Regions from separate parts of the Homo sapiens genome. Here all the other regions are linked to region 3. Evidence: promoter capture Hi-C in 16 types of primary human blood cells and fetal thymus (Javierre and others, 2016). All regions are on one chromosome and are shown on one strand. The core of a region is centred on a gene start or on the middle of the fragment in contact, and the rest is flanking DNA. Distances in the headings are between cores, read along the strand shown. Region 1 has its middle 7.1 kb from the start of MIR4519. Region 2 overlaps BCL7C (BAF chromatin remodeling complex subunit BCL7C). Region 3 holds the start of COX6A2 (cytochrome c oxidase subunit 6A2).

Evidence for each region. The method cuts DNA at HindIII sites, captures the fragments that hold promoters and counts their contacts. A CHiCAGO score of 5 or more calls a contact.
Region 1: a contact is called between a fragment that was not itself captured here and the fragment with the promoter of COX6A2 in region 3, in 4 of 17 cell types (naive CD8 T cells, activated CD4 T cells, naive CD4 T cells and 1 more). The highest score is 8.6, in naive CD8 T cells.
Region 2: a contact is called between a fragment that was not itself captured here and the fragment with the promoter of COX6A2 in region 3, in 1 of 17 cell types (monocytes). The highest score is 5.1, in monocytes.

The regions. Positions count from the first base shown.
Region 1 is chr16:30,866,877-30,869,576 of GRCh38, forward strand. It overlaps a transcript of BCL7C not described here. Among named protein-coding and RNA genes, the nearest start is that of MIR4519, 7.1 kb to the right of the region's middle. The HindIII fragment of the contact is 4,401 bases long and covers 1-2,700 here.
Region 2 is chr16:30,885,827-30,888,526 of GRCh38, forward strand. BCL7C (BAF chromatin remodeling complex subunit BCL7C) reads right to left here. Exons shown (of 6, transcript NM_004765.4): 6 at 1,969-2,164. The coding sequence ends at 2,039. The region is part of intron 2 of MIR762HG (MIR762 host gene); the gene reads left to right. Among named protein-coding and RNA genes, the nearest start is that of MIR762, 6.7 kb to the right of the region's middle. RefSeq lists an enhancer at 1,630-2,131. The HindIII fragment of the contact is 1,704 bases long and covers 449-2,152 here.
Region 3 is chr16:31,427,025-31,429,724 of GRCh38, forward strand. COX6A2 (cytochrome c oxidase subunit 6A2) reads right to left here and starts at 1,336. Exons shown (of 3, transcript NM_005205.4): 1 at 1,229-1,336; 2 at 991-1,127; 3 at 707-833. The coding sequence starts at 1,301. The coding sequence ends at 750. The HindIII fragment of the contact is 1,386 bases long and covers 711-2,096 here.

The DNA of each region.
Region 1 (2,700 bases), core at 19-2,518, 560 kb before region 3:
GATATCTTCTCTACAAAAAGTTTAAAAATCAGCTGAGCATGGTGGTGCACACCTGTAGTCCCAACTATCCAGAAGGCTGAGGCTGGAGGATCACTTGAGCCCAGGAGTTTGAGGCTACAGTGAGCTACAATTGTGCTACTGCACTCCATCCTGGATGACAGGGAGATACCCTGTCTCAAAAACAAACAAAAGTCAGAGCTTGTCAAACCAAATGACTTTTAAAATCTAGCCATATGCAATGTATAGGAAATGCACATAAAACAAAGTGACAAAAATGTTGAAAGTTAATAGATGGACAAAAAAATTCCAGGCCCAAAAAAACATGATTGGGGGAAGGTGGGTATCATTGAGATTCTGACCATGTTTATTTCTTGGTTTGGGTGGTGGTTATAAGGATATTTTGTTTTGTAATACTATCTTAGACTATTTTTCTATGAATATTTATGTATATGGATGTTTCATAAGTGGTAGGCAGAATAATGGCCATTATTCTGATGTCCTAAAATTCCCACACCCTAACCCCTGGAACATGTGAATGTCTTAGTTTACATGGTGAAGGGATTTTGCAGGTGTGATTAAGGACCTTGAGATGCGGGTGGTCTTGGATTATCCAGGGGGGCACAATGTAATCATGTTGGTCTTTAAAATCAGAGACTCGGCCATCCCAGCACTTTGGAAGGCCGAGGCAGGCAGATCACCTGAGGTCAGGAGTTCGAGACCAGCCTGGCCAACATGGTGAAACCCCATCTCTATTAAATATACACAAATTAGCCAGGCGTGGTGGCGCATGCCTGTAATCCCAGCTACTCAGGAGGCTGAGACAGGAGAATCGCTTGAACCCGGGAGGCGGAGGTTACAGTGAGCCAAGATCGCGCCACTGCACTCCGGCCTGGGCAACAGAGCAAGACTCCATCTCAAAAAGAAAAAAATAAAATAAAATCAGAGACTTATTTCTGATTTTGATCAGAGGGAGATGTGATTGTGGAAGAATGGTCAGAAATGCAGTGTGACTGACTCTGAAGATGGAGGGAGGGGCCTCTGGAAGCTGGAAGAGAGAGTGAAACAGACTGTCCCCTAGAGCCTCCAGGAGGGAACACAGCCCTGAAGACACCCTGATTTGATTTCATTTATTTATTATTTTTTGTTGTTGTTTTACAACAATCTCTTGTCCAACAGAAACACCTCGATTTTAGCCCAGTGAGACTCATGTCAGACTTCAGACCTACGGAATTGTAATATGATAAATCTGTGGGTTTTTTTTTTTTTTTTGAGACAGAGTCTTGCTCTGTCACCCAGGCTGGAATGCAGTGGTGCGATCTCAGCTCACTGCAACCTCTGCCTCCTGGGTTCAAGCGATTCTCCTGCCTCAGCCTCCCGAGTAGCTGGGACTACAGGCGTGTACCACCCGACCCGGCTAATTTTTTTTTTTTTTTTGTATTTTTAGTAGAGACAGGGTTTCACCATGTTAGCCAGGATGGTCTCCATCTCCTGACCTCCTGATCCGCCCACCTCGGCCTCCCAAAGTGCTGGGATTACAGGCGTGAGTCACCGCACCCCGCCAAATCTGTGTTGTTTTAAGCTACTAAATTTGCTGTAATTTGTTACAGCTATAGAAAACAATACAATAGGCCAGGCGCGGTGGCTCACGCCTGTAATCCCAGCACTTTGGGAGGCCGAGGTGGGCAGATCACCTGAGGTCGGGAGTTCGAGACCAGCCTGACCAACATGGAGAAACCTGGTCTCTACTAAAAATACAAAATTAGCCAGGTGTGGTGGCACGCGCCTGTGATCCCAGCTACTTGGGAGGCTGAGGCAGGAGAATCTCTTGATCCTGGGAGGTGGAGGTTGTGGTGAGCGGAGATTGCGCCATTGCACTCCAGCCTGGGCAACAAGAGCGAAACTCCATCTGAAACAAAACAAAAAACAACAGCAACAACAAAGAAAAAGAACAGAACGGAAAAGAAAAATAATACAACAGCAAAAAAAAAAGATTTAAAAAAAATTGGCCTGTTATGCCTCTGCTTTACCTCCCTTCTCAGCTTCCACATTACACTTTTAAAATGAATCTGTAATTTTTTCTTTTTTTTTGAACTCCTGACCTCAAATGATCCACCTGCCTCAGCCTCCCAAAATGTTGGGATTACAGGTGTGAGCCACCGCACCCAGCCATGAATCTAATTTTTTCATGGCCATGGCTTTGTGAGTCGACAGTTATGGGAAAGACAAAGTAGAAAGAGTGCCGAGCTTGAAGACTGGGGCCAGAGTCGTAGTTCCAGCTTTGCTGTGTCACTCGGGGCCTATCGCTTTCCCTCTCTGAGCCTATAGCCTTCATTATTTTATTTTGTTTTTTGCGACAGGGTCTCACTCTGTCACCCAGGCTGGAGTTCAGTGGCACGATCATGGCTCACTGCAGCCTCGACCTCCCAGGTTCCAGCAATCCTCCCACCTCAGCCTCCTGAGTAGCTGGGACTACAGGCGCCTGCCACTGTGCCCAGCTCATTTTTTTTTACTTTTTGTAGAGATGAGTTCTCACTATGTTGCTGGCCTCGAACTCCTAAGCTCTAGTGGATCTCCTGCCTCTGCCTCCCAAAGTGCTGGGATTACAGGTGTGAGCCACCACGCCTGGCTCTTTCTTTTTTTTTTTTTTTTTAAAGAGACGGGGTCTCGCTCTGTTGCCCAGGCTGGAGTGCAGTGTCACGA
Region 2 (2,700 bases), core at 51-2,550, 540 kb before region 3:
CAGCTGCTGTCGGAAGCATCCTTACATTTCCTTTGTTTGTTTAGACACAGGGTCTTGCTTTGTTGCCCAGATTTGAGCACAGTGGTGCAATCATCACTCACTGCAGCCTCAACTTCCCGGGCTCAAGCAATCTTCCCACCTCAGCCTCCCAAGAAGCTTGGACTACAGGCGCGCACCAGTATGCCTGGCTAATTTTTTCATTTTTGTCTTGCTTTGTTGCTCAAGCTGGTCTCAAACTCCTGGCCTCAAGCAGTCCTCCCACCTGTGCCTCTCAAAGGCCTGGGATTACAGGTGTGAGCCACCACACCTAGCCTACAGTTTTTAATGCTTCTTTAAAGTTCCAATTTGGTCCTCTCTGAACCTCAGTATCTTTCTTTATTAAAAATAAAAATAGGGCCAATATACATGACCCTATAGGCACAGAGTGAGAGGGCCTTATATTACTCGAAGCTTCCCACAAACCCCTGGGGCAGATGAGGCCTAGTTATTGTTCCCATTGCTCAGATGAACAAACTAAGGCTGAGAGTAGAAACAGCCTGCCTAGAGCCACTCAGGGAGTAACAGAGCCAGGACTTGAACCAGGGCTTCTGACTTGAGTTCTAGCACAGAGGTTCATGTCTCAGAGCCCAGCTCACATGCCACCTCCTCAGAGAAGCCTGCCTGGAAAACCCCAGCCCATTCATGTATTCATTTATTCATGAAGCAGCTGCTGGGACTGCCCTGTTCCCAGTGTTGTGTGGAGACCCCTCAGGAGCCCACAGCCTCGTAGACAAGACAGACACACAAACCACGGATCCCAGAACAGCCTGATAAATGATGAAACAAGGAGAATGAAGCCCAAGGGGTTGCTGGAGCTCAAAAAAGGGGAAACTCACTGAGCCTGGAGTCAGGGAAGGCTTCTCGGAGGAGATGGTGATTGAGATGGGGATAAGTTAGACCCAACCAGAAGTGTGGCCAGGCATCCCAGGTGGAGGAGTGGCTTCTTCAGGGCAGGGAATGGGTTGGTCATCCCAGGCCCCCAAGTCCCTCTGGGCCTCTGTGTTATTATGTATGAAACGTGAATAGGCTGGGCGCGGTGGCTCACGCCTGTAATCCCAACACTTTAGGAGGCCAAGGCAGGAGGAACACTTGAGCCCAGGAGTTCAAGACCAGCCTGGGCAATGTAGCGAGACCCCATGTCTACAAAAAATAAAATTAGCAGGCTGGGCATGGTGGCTCATGCCTGTAATCCCAGCACTTTGGGAGGCCGAGGCGGGCAAATCACTTGTGGTCAGGAGTTTGAGACCAGCCTGGCCAACATGGCAAAACCCAGTCTCTACTAAAAATACAAAAATTAGCCGGGCGTGGTGGCAGGCACCTCTAATCCCAGCTACTCAGGAGGCTGAGGCAGGAGACTTGCTTGAACCCAGGAGGCAGAGTTTGCAGTGAGGCGAGATTGCGCCATTGCACTCCAGCCTGGGCAACAAGAGCAAAACTCTCTAAAAAAAAATAGTGATAAATAAATAAATAAATAAATAAAATTAGCTGAGTATGGTGGCACACACCTGTGGTCCCGGCTACTTGGGAGGCTGAGGTGGGATGTCAAGGCTGCAGTGAGCCATGATCGCACCACTGCACTCCTGCCTGGGCAACAGAACAAGTCTGTGTCTCAAAAAAAAAAAAAAAAAAAAAAGAATCATGGCCTAGCTACCCAGAGTTTTGATAATTGTTAGGCCCAGGCGAGGGCTGAGCAGGAAGAGGGGTCCTGGGCCTCCCAGAGGAGGAGGTGAAGGTCGGGAGATAGGACAGACCTGGGAAGTACTGAGAGGCAGGGTCCTGGCTCAAGCCCCCACCCCACTCTGCCTTGTGGTGTCACTACAGGAAGGTCCTCTCAGAGCCTCAGTGACCACATCTGAGCAATGGTGCATGAGACAAAACTGTCTCCAAAGACCCTCCCCAGCCCTGACGGGGAAATGACATGACACAAAATTACAAAAGGGTCTTTATTTGTAAAAAGCCAAAGGGGCCCCTGGGGCAACAGGACAGGCAGGCCGGCTTCTCAGGGGTCAGGGGCATTTGGGCAGATGCGCTTGAGTGGGGGGGCACCCTCCGAGTCCTCTGTGTCACCCTGGGCTGCCTCAGGGACAGGTGGCACTGGCTCAAAGACAGGGTAAGCTTCGGGGGCCTGGAGAGGAAGGGTGGACAGGCGTGAGCTCCACAGAACCCAGGCGTCCAGCCTCTGAGCCTCTGCCTTCTCCAAAGCCTCCACTCCCCTCCCCTCCTGGGCCCGGGAGGCAAGCCCAGGGCCAGATGCCCAGGATGCAGAGGAAGCAGGCACCAAAAACAACAACGACAGTGACACTGTGTGGAGGAACGAACCTGATATTTGATATTTCTGAAAATGCCTCGAGGTAGCCTCGTGAGAAATGTCAGAGGTTTATAAGGAATTTTCTTATGCTAATTATACAGTTAGATATTTTTTGATATTTTTTGAAAATGCATGGAGGAGCGCCATGATTTTGTCAGGCTTTATTTATTTATTTATTTTTGAGAAGGAGTCTCGCTCTGTCACCCAGGCTGGAGTACAGTGGCGCGATCCTGGCTCACTGCAGCCTCCGCCTCCCGGGTTCAAGCAATTCTCCTGCCTTAGCCTCCCGAGTAGCTGGGACTACAGGCACGTGCCACCACGCCCGGCTAATTTTTGTATTTTTAGTAGAGACG
Region 3 (2,700 bases), core at 86-2,585:
GAATGGCGTGAACCCGGGAAGCGGAGCTTGCAGTGAGCCGAGATTGCACCACTGCAGTCCGCAGTCCGGCCTGGGCGACAGAGCGAGACTCCGTCTCAAAAAAAAAAAAAAAAAAAGAAAGAAAGATTATAGAGAATTATCAAAAGATTCCAAATCCAGCATTAGGTCCCAAGGCCTCACACACAGGACTGTGGAGCCTCCGTCTGAAATCCAGAGAGCTGGGATTCACAGACACCAGCAGCTCAGGTGTCAGGCAAGAAGTGGGACTTCAGGATCTGCAGCCCTGGGCTCCCATGGGGGCTCTGCCGAGCTGCCGGAACTTGGACAAGTCATTTAATTCCCAAGAATCTCAGGTCTTCCTCGGGAGAAGGTGAACTAAATTTATACCCTGCTCCCAGCGTTACTGTGAGGATTCGGTGTACGCGGAAGCCCATTACAGCCTAGAGCCCTAATTATTAATAGGTGTGTGTGAGAGGGAGGCCTCATTATTACCAGGTGAGAGACAGGGAGCTGGGATCGCCTACCTGTGAGTGGAGGAGGCTCCCTCGAGCACCTCCGTATCAGCGGCGTGGGAAAAGCACGTGGAGCGCCCACCGCGCTAGGCGCATGCGCGGAGCAGGAGCGCTTACCAAGCTGGGCGCATGCGCGGAGCGGGCGCCTCTGGGCGCGCTCCCCGTGGCCCCGCCCTCCCCACAGAGCCGCAGACTCGAAGCTTCACACCTTTATTGTGTCCGGGGGCGTCCGGGGCCTCAGGGGTGTTCGTAGCCCGTGGGCAGAGGGTTCACGTGGCTATTGTGGAACAGAGTGTGGTTGCCGTCCCCCCAGGGGTAGGGCTGTGGAGAGAGCGGGGGAGGGAGCGCGCGTGAGCGCCGTGAGTCCGGAGTCCGCGCCCCGCGCGACCCCCCCCCCGCAGCACCCCCCCCCGCCCCCGCAGCACCCCCCCCCGCCCCCGCAGCACCCCCGTGCCGCCCGCGCGCCCGTCCCGCGTACCTTGGTGCGGATGCGGAGGTGTTGGTAGGGACGGAACTCGGGGCGCGGGCGGTGGCCCGAGTGGAGATAGGAGTTGAAGGTGCAGAGGGCCACGCTGGGCAGCGCCAGCACGAAGGTCAGCAGACGCCAGGTACGAGCTGCGGACGGAGCGGGGTGAGCGCGGCGGTCCTGGGGCGGCGGGCCTGTGAACAGGTGGGCAGGGTAGGGGAGCCCCCGGATCCGCCCGTTCCCCACTCACCTCCTGCTCCTCCGTGGCCTCCTTTGGCAGCGCTGGCCAAGCCCCGGGTCAGGGGCCTCAGAGGCAAAGCCATGATGGTGCGGGGAGCCGGGAACCAGCGCTGTCCTCGCTCCCTTTCCTGGGGCCTGGGGTCACCTCCCCTCTCTGGGCCAATCACCTGTTGAGTCTGGAGCACTGGCGGCTATTCTTAGGGGTTTCTATATTTAAAATGGGGCCTGACTGGCTTGAGGTCATCTCCAGACAGCTGTTGTCCTGTGCCTCTTATTTTGGCAAGGAGGCATTTAAGTACAATATGCCATTCTTTTTATATAGTTGCAGGGAAACTATTTTGTTCCCTATTCTATGCCTGGTGGCTGGCACACAGTTGGGCTTTAATAAATATTTGTAGAATGAATTAAGTGTCTTTTTGAGTCTCAGTGTTTTCAGCTGTAAAATGTATAATAATTCGTACCTTAAAAGATTTTTTAAATACTGGAGACGGGGATCTCACTATATTGTCCAGGCTGGTGTGGAACTCTTGAGCTCACGTGATCCTCCCGCCTCAGCCTCCCACAGTGCTGGGATTACAGGCATGAGCCACTACACGGCCCTTACATCATTTTTATGAAGTTTATGTAAGGTAGGAATGTGTCAACCTGGATTTTGGCAGGTAACAGTAGTTCAGTATATGTATTAGTCACAGTTCTTTGCAAAGAACAGAACTCACTCTTACTAGTTTTAGAAGATAAGTAATTGAGAATCTTAGGTAGCTTACTATGTCTGATATAGCCAGAGATGCCTACAGTCTGCACAGTCATAAACAAGTCATTCCGTTGGCCAGCTGCAGTGACACCCCCACAGCTCACACTGCTGGACCCTGGATGCCAAAAGCTTCATTAAGGCTGCCCTGGAAAACCAGAATTTTCCACCCTCATCCCCTCTTGAAAACAGATTCTTCATGAAACCTGTATCCTGGGTCGCTCTTTTCTGAAAGAATTATGTGATTGCACCAACTGGCAACCCCTAGGTCCCCCAGCTGCAGGAGGGGATGGGAAACTGAGCTCTGGATTCTGCCTTAGGGAGGCAGGAATTGTAGGGAAAATCTCCAGGTCTAGGATGAGTATTCAAAAGGTTCCAGGCAGCCACAAGCCTGACAGGTGTCTACTGCAAAGTGCATTATTTCAATCTGAAAAATATGACTACTTGGAGAAAGCAAGCCTAGACAGGGCTGGTGTGAACCCTCTATCAAAGCAGGTCACAAGAAAGCCACAAGACCAGGCAGGGATGACATCTGCCTGTTCTGTCCTCAGCAACGGGCAGGGACCTTGGCATGAAGGAGGTGTTCTAAAAATATGTATGTAATGAATGCTTGAACCTTGTTACTTTGGTTAACCCTACAACAATGCCTTTTCAGAATTACAATCCAATAGGAAGCTTCTAGCTTTGATCAAGGGCTGATGTACTAATATGAACTTAATATACAAAAGAAGAAT